3 separate regions of the Homo sapiens genome follow, and all the other regions are linked to region 1. The links are contacts of gene promoters, found by promoter capture Hi-C in human tissues and cell types (Jung and others, 2019). All regions are on one chromosome and are shown on one strand. The core of a region is centred on a gene start or on the middle of the fragment in contact, and the rest is flanking DNA. Distances in the headings are between cores, read along the strand shown.

Region 1 (4,128 bases), core at 751-3,250:
GAGATTAAATGTCACTTCCTCCAGGAGATCTTTCTTACCCCCTAGCACAGACACGCTCCTTTGTTATACACTCTCATAACTCTCAGGCTTTTTTCCAGCAATCACAACAGCATCACCACACAGCCTCAAGTCCAAGCCACTTGCTTCACATTTGAAGTTGCCAGCTGTCAGACGGGAGATGAAGTAGAAATGGGATTGTTGTTGTCTGCACCCATTAGGACCCAGTTTTTTACAAGGGGGCATTTCCTCGCCCGATTCCAATGTGAGTTATTTTCAGGGCTGAAATTTGATTTAAATTTGGATTCCAACTTGAAGCTTAACATATCTCCAAAGTACACACTACTTTGCGGTACTGAATGAAGAATGTAAGTAGAAGGTTGCCTGCCACATGCCATGTAATGCTCTGAAGGACGGTAGAAACCACCAGCTCTCTCAGAAAAAAATGGTGGAAGAATTTTCAAAACCAAGACAGGCTGGCTTCTGTATATGCTTTGTGTAGAAATCTTGAAAGACTACACACTCAGGGGAGGAACACATATTGGGTGGAACTTCTGCCAAACTTTCAAGAGCAGCTACTTTCTAATGATCTGTAATTCAAAAAACAACCAGAACAAAAACCAGCTGGAAATGCAGTCAAAACACTGCTTTTCCATATTCCTTGCAATTATACTTTCATTTTTAGGTGGTGAGGAACACCAGGATGAGTCATTATAAAAAGCATGACTGCAGATGGCCAAGAGTGATACCGAAGCACCCTTCACCCTGAAGGTTAAGGTTAAAGCTCAAAGTCTGATCGCAAAGCATAAGGAAAAAAAAAAAGAACATGGATAAATGTATGCTGGTGTCCTTCAGCACCAGAAAAGCTGCTACTAAATCACTGGTGTGGCTTGGAATTGGTAGAAGCTTTGATTTGAGGAAAAGAGTATCATTAGCTGTGTAATTTTGAGTTGTTGTTTTAGAGACAAGGTCTCATTTTGTGGCCCAGACTGGAGTGCAGTGATGCGATCATAGCCCGCTGCAGCCTTGAACTCCTGGGCTCAGGCGATCCTCCCACCTCAGTCTCCTAGCCACTCCAGGTCTCGCTGTGTTTGCCCAGGCTGGTCTCAAATTCCTGGCCTCAAGCGATCCTCTCGCCTGGTCCTCCCGAAGTGTTGAGGTTACACGCATGAGCCACCAATCCTGGCATTATGGCATTAGCTGTGTAATTTTTAAAATAACTGTCTTCGGACCAACACCTTTCTTTTGTTCACTGGAGTATCCCTGGGGTGTGTCTCATTCCCTGAATCATACACAGTAGATGCTCAATAGTTTTGTAAATAAAATAAATGAGCTCTCGGATTTACATGCAGACTTTGGATCAGTTTGATCTAGGTTTAAAAGCAAGTGTGGGGAAACTTGAAAAGCCTGGCACCCCAGCCAACTCTTCAGCGCCCCATGCGCTTGGCGCCTACACCTGCCTGGCACGGGGAGGGTGCTATGGGGCTGCCCTAAACCTCACCCCCTCCTGCGGTGGTTCCTGCCCGTCTCGGCTCCTGCACCGCCCACACTATGCGCTGCTGGGCCGAAAGACACGTGGTTCGGTTTTAACTCCAGTCTGCAAGAAACATGACCTCAGCCAAAAAGAGGCCGCTGGTCTGAGAAGAGAAATCATGAGTCATGGATTCGGGGGTTCGGACCTTGGAGCAGGCGGTGAAGTGGGCGTGCGTGGGCTGGTGGGGAAGAGGGATGCCGAAGGAGGCCACAGCCCTTCTCTCCTGGGCAGGCTCCCCAGAAAACTGCCCCCTTGCCGTCATCCAGCGCCCCCGTTCCCGACAGCTGTCTGCCAGGGCGCGGCCGGGGTCCGGGCGGGGCGGTGCTGTCGCTCCGGGTCGCCGCCCCGCGGGCCACATCACCAAGGCCCGGGCTTCCCCGGCGGCGGCGCGGCTGCGCTTGCGCGGGGCTGCCGCGCGGGGGCGGGGCGGCGGGGAGTCAGGGGGCCGCGGGCGCCGACGGCCGGGCTGTCAGCTTGGGGCCGCAGCCGCGCGAGGAGGCGCGGGAGCAGGAAGGAGCTGTGGGCTGGGAGCCGCTGTCCTCCCCGCCACCACCGGTGCCGGGCACCAGGTGAATGCCCCTTCCATCCCCCGCCCCTGGTGTCTCGGTCTGGTCTGAGGAGACGGGGACCCTTCTCACACCGGCCGCTGCCGCCGCCGCGCTCCGGAACAGGTGACCATGGAGGGGAAGTCTCGGCTTCGGCCGCGGCGCCGCGTTCGGGCGCATCAGGTGCGGGAGGGAGGTGGGGCCGAGAGGCCTGGGCTCGGGACCCGGCGGCGGGGGCGCGGGGAGCAGAGGGAGCGGCCCCGCCCGAGCAGCCGTGCCCCCTGCGGACGCCTCTCCGGGCCGCCGGGCAGCGCCCGAGCCCAGGCCCCCGCGCCTGCCCCACCTCGGGCTGAGGGAAGCTGTTCCGCGGCCACCGCGGACAAGCGGTCCCGGGCGCCCAAGGCAGGGACAGGCGGCGGGTGGTGTATGAGTGATGGCTGAAGGTGAGCTGGGATGGAGATGCTGCGAGGCTGGCTCGGGCACACCCCAGATGCCTGTTCAGGGCTCCGCGAGTGCCCCGTCACCCTTTTCTTTCATTCTTCTCTTTATATACACGGAGCATATCTCAAATTTAAAAGCCCAAATGCTCATTTACAGAGAGAGATGACACATATCTATGTGTTACCGATATACATTGATGTGTATATTACGTATATATGTCATCTTTTTTTTGTAGTGACAATTTTTAAATTGAGATATACATCACATGCCATAAAACTCATTCTTCTAAAGTGTGGCTTTTAATATATTCACAGAGTTTTCCAAATATGACCACTATCCAGATCATCATCCCCAAAAGAAACCCTGTCTCTCTTAGTAATCACTCCTCATTTCCCCTTGACCCCACCCCACTAGCCACCACTAATCTACTTTCTGTTTATATGGGTTTGCCTGTTGTGGAAATCTCATATAAATGGAAGCGTACAATATGTGGCTTTTTGTGTCTGGCGTCGAAAGACATACTGTAATGTTTTCAAGTTTCACTCATGTAGTATGTATCAGTACTTTACTTTTTATAGCATATTAATATTGTTGTATCAGTGTACCACATTTGTTTATTCATCAGTTGATGTACATTTGGGTTGTTTCCAGTTTTTGGCCATTGTGTGTAATGCTGCTATGCACATTTGTTTACACGTTTTTGTGGACATGTGTTTTCAGTGCTCTTGGGTATATACCTAGGAGGGCAATTGCTCCGTGTTTCACTTTTTGAGGAACTGCCAAGCAAAGCAGCTGTACCATTTTACTTTCCCACTAAGCAGTGTATGAGGGTTCCGATTTCTTCACATCTTCCCCAAGGCTTGTTACTTTTTTACTGGTTATTTTTTATGATAGCCATCGTAGTGAGTGTGGAATGGTATCTCTTTGTGGTTTTGATTTGCATTTCTCTAATGATTGGGGATGCTGAGCATCTTTTCATGTGCTTATTGGCCATTCATATATTTTCTTTGGAGAAAATGTTCATATCTTTTACCCATATTTTAATTGGGTTGCTTGGCTTTTTATTTTTATTTATTTATTTATTTATTTATTTGGAGACTGACTCTCAGTCTGTCACCCAGGCTGGAGTGCAGTGGCACAATCTTGGCTCACTGCAACCTCCACCTCCGGGGTTCAAGCGATTCTCCTGCCTCAGCCTCCCAAGTAGCTGGGACTACAGGCACACACCACTATGCCCGGCTAATTTTTGTATTTTTAGTAGAGACGTGGTTTCACCATGTTGGCCAGGTTGGTCTCCAACTCCTGAATTCAAGTGATCTGCCCACCTCGGCTTCCCAAAGTGCTGGGATTACAGGCATAAGCCACCACGGCCAGTCTGGGTTGCTTAGCTTTTTATTGAGTTTTATTGTTCATTTATGGAAAAAAATTTCTGTTAATAGGTTTGGATACTGGCACTGACTTGAAAAAATCCAACCAATCTGATACCGAAAAACTTAATGCTTATTCTTGGGTAAAGGTTGAATAAGTGCCACTTCATTCTTTAAGAATACCCTACCTGTTCATTCTGGACATCTTACTGACCCCTTTACATTTACTGCCCTGGTATTTTGA
Region 2 (4,298 bases), core at 1,313-3,812, 340 kb after region 1:
ATTACTTGCTCAAAATCCCACTGCTAGTAAGTGGAAGAGGCAGGATTTGAACTCAGGACGTAGGGGTCTAAATTCCATGCTCTTCCCACAAAACTGCATTGTTTGAGATTTGCTGCACCAGGTATTTGGGGGCCATGCAGGGGGGATGGGAGAATGGTAAGATGACACCTAAAAATGTCTTTTGAAGGAAAATGCTGGAGTGAAGGTGAGAGGCGGGCATGGAGAGCCTAGGTTGCCTCCTCCTTGTTTCTTGTGAAAAGTGAAGGAACAACCCAATCTATGAAGAGAACTATTAATAACTCTGACTGTGGCTACCCAGGGGACCCTATCCTCTAGCCCCACAAATCCCCTTCACTCCAGGGACACCACCCAGGCTGGACAGGTTCTCCTTTTACAGGTACTGCGGTGACCTCTGTTTCTAAAGGCACCCGTTCAATGCCACATTTCTCTTCTCCCTGGGTTGAGTCATATGAAATTATGAGTATTTACTGCATCCAGAGAGACCGAGAGGCTGCACATCCATCTGGCCCACCTTGGGACTCCAGCTCCCTGCCACGGACTAGTACTCCACAGCTGCATAAACACGGCCTTTTATTTTCCAGGGTTTCTGGAAGCAGAAGCATGCTACCTTCCAAGAGAGGTCAGGGCCTCTTCTGGTGTCCCGTCTCAGCAATCTACACAAACTCTGGGACCACTCGTCCTTTGTGACCTAACCTACTTGAGGGTTGCTTCTTCTAGGGCCTCCCAGGCTCTAAGAAGGCTTGTCCAGTTAATGATTGTGCAGACCACCTGGGAGTCTGTTAAAAAGTTTCCTGGCCGGGCACAGTGGCTCATGCCTGTAATCCCAGCACTTTGGGAGGCCAAGGCAGGTGGATCATGAGGTCAGGAGATCAAGACCATCCTGGCCAATGTGGTGAAACCCTGCCTCTACTAAAAATACAAAAATTAGCCAGGCGTGGTGGTGTGCGCCTGTAGTCCCTGCTACTCAGCAGGCTGAGGCAGGAGAATCGCTTGAACCCGGGAGGCAGAGGTTGCAGTGAGCCAAGATTGCGCCACTGCACTCCAGACTAGGCGACAGAGTGAGACTCCGTCTCAAAAAAAAAAAAAAAATGTAGTTTCCCTTTGGCAGGCTGGGGTGGGGGCCAATTCTGTAATTCTAATAAGCTCCCAAGTGTGTCAGTGTTGCTGGTCCCTGGATCTGTCTTTGAGTAGGAAAAACCTAGAGAGGTGGTTCTCAAACTTGGTTGTTCATTGAGGGTTTATAGAAAATACTGATTGGGTGGACTGAGCATTGCAATTTTTTAAATTTCCTTTTTTGCTTCTAAAGTACAGCCAAAGCTGTGAACCCCTGCACTAAAAGATGGTGTTTCTTTTAGACATAGTGGATTTATAAGATGATGGCAGATTATCCGGCAGACGATGGAGTTCCATTGTCCAAGTGATCTTAGCCTCCACCTGCTCATTTGCTCCCAGGGACCATTTGCTCCTCTCTGCCTTTGTGCCTGAGTAACAATAACAACAGCAAATAGCAAACAGCCTTCACTTGGTGCCAGACACCTTTCTGAGCACTTCACATGTCCGGATTCATCAAATTCTCACAAAAGAGAATAAGGTAGGGGCTATTCTTTGATTTTTATTTTATTTTATTTTGAGACAGAGTCTTGCTCTGTCACCCAGGCTGCAGTGCAGTGGTGTGATCTTGGCTCACTGCAGCCTCCACTTCCCAGGTTCAAGCGATTCTCCTGCTTCAGCCTTTTGAGTAGCTGAGACTGCAGGTGCCCGCCACCACGCCTGGCTAATTTTTGTATTTTTGGCAGAGACGGGGTTTCCACCATGTTGGCCAGACTGGTCTTGAACTCCTGACTTCAAGTGATCTGCCCACCTCAGCCTCCCGAAGTGCTGGAATTACAAGCGTGAGCCACCGAGCCCGGCCAATTCTTATTCTCATTTTACAAGTGAGACAAGTGAGGCACAGAGCTGGTAAGAAGCTCTCCTACATCACACAGCCGGCAGGCGCTGGTGCTGGGATTTCAGCCCACGTGGGGCTAGTTCTAGAGCCTGTGCTCTTGACTACTTCTAGGCTGTGTGGCCTCAGACATTCATCTTTCTCTCAGAGCTTTTCTCCAAACACTGGATGGGACATGAGGCAGGAATCCAGGCAAGCACTGAGCTTGCCGAGTTCTCAAGAGCCAAGCTCTGCCTTGGCAGGATGTCTGTTATATCCATGGATATATCCGTGGATATTCCGTGAGAAACATGCTGGAGACAAAACAGATGGCCAGAGCGATTTCTCCAATACTCAAAACGACTGCCAGAACTGTGTATTTGCCATTTTGTGGCTTCAAGTCCCTGATTTAAGATGAAGAGAGGGGAATGTTGCAAGAGGCCATTTTAGGCAGCACTGGAGTTGGCCGGGGCGTCACACCCCTGTGGCACATTCCAAGGACGGTCAGCTTCGTTCTAGGGCTGCCCAATGTCTGCTATGGCCTGCGGCAGGCCCAATCTGTCAAGTGTCTCCCAGTGCGGTAATGCAGACATTGAACAACAGAGGATCAGCTAGAGATACAGGGGCTGTTGACTTTTCTAGAAGTCTGGAGCTACAGTGGAACTCAGGTTTCGTGCATCTTTGGCCTGCTTATCCTCTCTATCCAAGAAGAGGGGTGTGGATGGAGAACGCCTGCCCAGGAGGGACAAAGCTTCAGCCCCTCCAGTCAGTGCCTCTTCTCCTTTCTCCCCTCTCCCCTCTCCCATCTCCCCTCTCACCTTGGCCAGATTTTAACTGTGCAAGGGAGGGTGGAGTCACTTGTTCTTCCGTGTGCCACCCTCCTGTGTCTTTGCTCTGTCGGGATGACCAAGGCTCTACACACACACACACACACACACAAGCATGCATGCACACACACATGCATAAGCATGCATGCATACACACATGCACACACACACATACACATGCCTAGTCTAGGTCTATCTCTATGCTCCTCCAACGTCATGTATTAAACTCATATAGGACATCATTTTATAATTTTTTAAATTTTTTTAATCAAAAAAAAATCCAACCAGGCTGGAGAGCAGTGGCACAATCATAGCTCACTGTTGCCTTGAATTCCTGGGCTCAGGGGATCCTCCCGTCTCAGCCTCCCGAGTCAGCTGGAACAATTGGTGCACAACACCATGCCCAGCTAATTCTTAAATTTTTTGTAGAGACAGGATCTTGCCATCTGGCCCAGGCTGGTCTCAAACTCTTGTCATCCTCCCACCTCAGACTCCCAAAGTGTAGGGATTACAGGCATGAGCCACTGCGTCTGGCCAGGACCTCATTTTATAATGGTCAGTCAGTTTACTGGCTTGACACCCCAATTAGAGCACAAACTTCCCCAGACTTATTGAGGTTAATTTGGCAAATAAAAATTATATATATTCATGGTATACAACATGATGCTTAGATAGAGAGATAGATAGTGAAAGTGATGACCACAATCAAGCTAAGTAACACATCTATCACCTCACATAGTTATCATTTTTCGTGTAGTCAGAACATTTAAGATCTGCTTTCCTAGCAGATTTCAAGTCTACAATATATTATTATTAACCATAGTCATCAAGCTGTGCATTAGATCTCCAGAATTTATTCATTCTATCTAATGAAACTTTGTACCCCTTGACCAACATCTCCCTGTTTTCACCACCTCTGGTAACCATTCTGCTCTCTGCTTCTACCAGTTCAACCTTTTTAGATTCTACATATAAGTGAGATCATGCGGTATTTGTCTTTCTGTGCCTGGCTTATTTCACTTAGCATACTGTCCCTGTATTAGTCCATTCTTGCACTGCTATAAAGAACTACCTGAGACTGAGTAATTTACAAAGAAAAGAGGTTTCATTGGTTCCACAGGCTGTACAGGAAGCATGGCTGGGGAGGCCTCAGGAAAGTTACAATCATGGTAGAAGGCGAAGGGGAAGCAGGCACATCTTACATGGCCAGAGCAGGAGGAAGAGAGAGAAGGGGGAGGTGCTACACACTTTCAAACAACCAATTCCCATGAGAACTCACTCACTATCATGAGAACAGCAAGGGGGAAATCCACCCCATGATCCAATCACCTCCCACCAGGTCCCTCCTCCAACACTGGGGACTACAATTCGACATGAGATTTGGGGACGGGGGTGACACAAATCCAAACCATATCAGTCCCCCCAGGTTCACCCATGTTGTAACCAAGGGCTGAAAACTTCCCTCTTTTTTAAGGCTAAATAACATTCCTTTTATATGTATCTATATATCTATATCTATCTATCTA
Region 3 (4,405 bases), core at 873-3,372, 440 kb after region 1:
CTGACAGTATACGAAACCAAGATCCACAGTCACAACCAGGCTGACCAGACAAAAGTCTGCAGGGGGATTTAATCCCAAAACGCGGACCACAAAGAAGGGAGAAAAACCAACCTGCATGTAATCATATTCACCCAGGCTCACCTGTTGCGGATATGCATTGCAGAAAAGCATGCAGATAAGGAGAAAATAGTTATATGGGAAGGGAAAAGGTGGAGGCCCAGAGAAGAAGAATGTTCACCTTAAAGGTCCCACCAGGGTAGACTCGAATACAATGGCAAATCTCTGAACCTTCCTTTGGATCTCCAAGTCATTCATCTACAAATATGTATTGAGCAACTTCACTGGGAGACAGGATACTGAGATCAACTATTATCCTTATCCTTATTATGATTACTATTTAATTAGGGCAGCTGGGGAAAAAAAGACATGTCTAATTAAGTGCTCAGATTCTCTAAATAGATTTTTTAAATCCACCATTAAGATTCAGAATATGTTCTATTCTTTCCCACCGGACTCACGTATTCCAAAGGAATATCAGACAGTCACCTTTAAAACAAATGGACCACAAGCCTCCAGGGTCAGAGAACAGAAGGGGTGGCTGCACACGCCACTGGCTGCAGACTGTCTGACTTCCTGAGCAGATACAAGCAAAGGCCAAGTGCCCTCAAGGGAATTCAAAAGCCCCTGCCATCCCCGCTCCCATGCTGTGAGCCTGGGACAGATTTAGCCTCCAGCCACAGAACACTTCACTGCACCAGCTTGATGCTCAGGGCTTATCCTGAACATGGCTAGGATCATGCCCCAGGAAGAAGATCCTATGAGTGAACAAAATTACGCCATCCTAAGAATCCCCTTCAAGAAGTGCTTTGCAATTTCAGATGCTGGAACAATCTATCCTATAGCAGACTGAGAGGTTTGTTTTTTTTTGTTTTGTTTTGTTTAAAAAAAAAGGTTACACAAGTGGCTAAGTAGCAGCAGCAGTGGTGCTCCTCCTGACCACCACCCATGTACTAACCCGCCCTTCTTACACTAACAACTGCTGCTCCTACTTAGCAAACTAATCACTAACCATTAGTCCTACTGCCTCTCACTGAATGCACCCATGTCCATTCCTTTAGGCTTATAAAGCATTTACTTCTCCATTAGCTTATGTGGCATGTAAGATCCTGAGAGATGAGCAGAGCAGGTGCCATTGGGCCCATTGGACAGATAAAGAAACTAATGCTCAGTAGTTCAGAGACTGTCCTGAAGCCTCCCCAGCTGATGAGCAGTGAACTGGTTTTGCTGCCTCATCCCTTACTGCCTGTAGCATGGGTGTGCAGAAAGACAACAGACAACTTTGATCAGTTCCGACGCCAGCAACTAGGAATGAAGCTAAGACATAAGGAACATGGAGCTCCTGCACCCCGTTCCCTGATGGAGTCCCAGTCCCTTGCACAGCTGTGCCTCCTAAATTAAACACACGCACTCTCCATAAGTAGTTTCCTAGGAAAACCAGACTACTGTCCTTTAGGAACCAACCCTGCACCTGCAGAAAAGCCTTCAACAAAACCAACTGTGAAGGCTTTGCCGAAACAGTTCTCAGAACAGCTGTCCTGGTCCTGCCACAGCACAGGAAATCATCCCATCTTGGCAAACCCCACTCAACCATGTTTCCATGCTGCAGCCTTAGAGGAATGAAAATATCAATCTGAGCCAAGCAAATCTAACAGGCTATCATGCAAAATGCTGGTGTCAAATCAAGCCTCAACCAGTAATTATCCATCAAGCAGGGCCATAATAACCGGCTCCCTGGGGTCACTTCGCTGGGAGGCAGGGAGGTGGTTACTAAAGAGGGAGTTGGAATTGGACAAGTGACAGCCTTAAGAGAAAGGCGTTCATCTCACTTTTCTAGATTCTTCTACAGGTTAGGGGGTTCTACCCAACCCTCTAACCAAACCTATCCCCACTGAGGTCAAAACCCATCCTGTGGCTGCCTCGAGGCATTTATGATGACGCACTGGGGCAGATCTCCATCTATCATGCTGTGCCCTCCTTTAAGTTTAAAGGAAGTTGGCTTTAGCTAATGGTCTGAAAGGTGCTTCCTTTACCAACTGCTGTCATTAAACTAGCAAACTATTAATTTAAACTCTTATGGTAAGGGGGTTTCCTGGAAATTCCTTAAAGGAAGTCTGTAATTGACAGTGTGGTTAAACATCATACAGACAGCACAAAAATCCTAATCAAATACAATTAGTGCAGGCTCAAGTCCCCTTGTAGACCAATAGCACTTTTGTTCATAAGAAGTACTGTGCCATACCCCTGTTTAGGGTTGGGACTATTATGGAGAAAGAAACACACACACACACACACACACACACACACACACCTCAAGAGTCCAGGCCTAGGCCTCAAAGTTCATCATGACATTTGCTCCAACTCTATAATCCGACTGAAGAGAAGAAAGAGTTAAAAAAAAAAAAAAAGAAAGAAAAAAAGAAAAAGAAAAGATTTTAAGAAAAAAATGGTTTCTATTAAAATGCATAACACCATCTTTCAAAGATGAAAGGACTTAGTAGAAACACCATAAACCTCAGAATTACACAGTAAATTGCTTCTTTTGTTTAAGGCAAATTAATATTGGATCACAGATAAAAAATAAATCCTCCCAACATCCCCAGCTAAAGGATGCTATATTCATTATGCAGCTTGGAAGACTGCATGTTGACTATTTTGTAGAAAATGAATGAAGGGTTGGTTATAATCACCTTCCCACTCAAATCCTGTCTCATTACCTGAAGTGTTTTTCCTGCAAAGTGACACACAAATGATTTTCTAGTCTTCGCTTTCTTCTCATAAGCCACCATATGCAGGGCGAGGGAAAGTCCGGGGTGTATTAACTATGCCAGTGAATCTGCCCGGGGTCCTTCAAAGTGCTTCCCAGAACACGGTGCACAGACATCGTATTTGCCTAGGTCTTTATCAGAGTCCAACTGAATCTGGCACAAAGGCAACTGACAACCTCTGAATATCCCTTACCGAGCCCATATAATTAGTGAAGGAAATACAGCATGATAACATGTGTATCATCCGAATCTTCCCTCCTTCCTACTCACGCGCTCCTGTCATACTTGCTAACTCAAAGGTGGTCTTTATTTTTATGTTTATTTTTTTGAGACAGGGTCTCGCTCTCTCACCCAGGCTGAAGTGCAGTGGCACAATCATGGCTCACTGCAGTCTTGAACTCCTGGGCTCAAGCAATCCTCCCGCCTCAGCCTCCCACGTAGCGGGGACTACAGGCACGTGCCACTGCGCCTGGCTAATTTTTTTATTTTTTTGTCAAGTAAGGGTCTCACTATGTTGCCCAGGCTGGTCTTGAGCTCCTGGGCCAAGCTCCCACCTCAGCTTCCTAAAGTGCTGGGATTACAGGCGTGAGCCACCATTTCTGGACTCAAAGGTGGTCTTGACTCAGAGGCGGGAACTTCTCACTGCCAAAGCGACCTTAGATCCAAAGTTATCCAGTACGATCCTCAGTGGGAAAAGGCACTGACATGCAGTAGGTATTCAAAAAGTGTTAGACACTACACAAAGAAAAGGGACCAATTATAAAATGTCTGGCTTCATTTCGCCAAGCTCATCAGGAGTCAGCTTAAGGAACACCACATCCTTGTCATTCACCTCTATCACTCCGATTCCACATTCCCACAGAGATGAAATTCTTCCTGAGGTCAGGTTCCCAGGTCGCTTTTGAGGCAAAATTTCTCTTCTAAGAATTTGGTACAGCCTCTGAAGTAGGGTGAGGGTGATGGCATCTAGAACTAGGGACTTCAGTGTGGCCAGAGGACACCCACCTCCACATCATCACCCGGGAGCTGGTTACAAATGCAGGATCAGACCCCAGGCCAGGCCTATGGAATCACAACCTGCAACTTAACTCCAACCCCAGGGAATTCCACATGCATCTAAGTGTGAGAAGCTCTGGTGTACAAGTGATGATTGCAAACAGGGGTCTGGAAGCCCCTACACCACCCCCTGGTTCTCCAGACATTAAAATTGACAAGCTTCAGAAGGAAGAGGGCACTGATGACCATAAAATGAGGCTGTCAACAGCTTGCTGCTCCCCTGTGTAGACAGACCAGGATTAAATCGGCTTCAAGACACCCATCCAAGCGCGGGTGCAATAAAAGGCTCTGAGGATGGAGCCCAGGCGCTGAACTTTGGGGTGCAGTTTTAATTTCGCTGGACAATTCTTGGGCTTCTCTTACAGTGCACCCAAGATTTTACAGACAAAAAAGGCTGCAGAGATCAAATTCCAGCTTCCCCCAGTTACTTAACCACTCAGCCTGGGAATGTTACTAAACCTCTCAAGGCTCTTCCTTCATCTTTAAGTGGCAGTAACAGCTATGATGGAGAGGATTTGGAAGGG

The links. The method cuts DNA at HindIII sites, captures the fragments that hold promoters and counts their contacts. A contact is called where the count stands out against the background at its distance.
Region 2: a fragment that was not itself captured here is called in contact with the fragment with the promoter of SLC41A2 in region 1 in 1 of the 25 tissues and cell types used here (mesenchymal stem cells).
Region 3: a contact is called between a fragment that was not itself captured here and the fragment with the promoter of SLC41A2 in region 1, in 1 of the 25 tissues and cell types used here (spleen).

Annotation. Positions count from the first base shown.
Region 1 is chr12:104,956,162-104,960,289 of GRCh38, reverse strand. It overlaps SLC41A2 (solute carrier family 41 member 2), which reads left to right and starts at 2,000. Exons shown (of 11, transcript NM_001352171.3): 1 at 2,000-2,202. RefSeq lists silencers at 1,822-2,091, 2,282-2,611. The HindIII fragment of the contact is 10,569 bases long and covers 610-4,128 here.
Region 2 is chr12:104,613,280-104,617,577 of GRCh38, reverse strand. All of the region lies in intron 2 of CHST11 (carbohydrate sulfotransferase 11), which reads right to left. Among named protein-coding and RNA genes, the nearest start is that of MIR3922, 24 kb to the right of the region's middle. The HindIII fragment of the contact is 4,840 bases long and covers 143-4,298 here.
Region 3 is chr12:104,517,035-104,521,439 of GRCh38, reverse strand. The region is part of intron 1 of CHST11 (carbohydrate sulfotransferase 11); the gene reads right to left. Among named protein-coding and RNA genes, the nearest start is that of CHST11, 62 kb to the right of the region's middle. RefSeq lists an enhancer at 941-990. The HindIII fragment of the contact is 9,493 bases long and covers 1-4,405 here.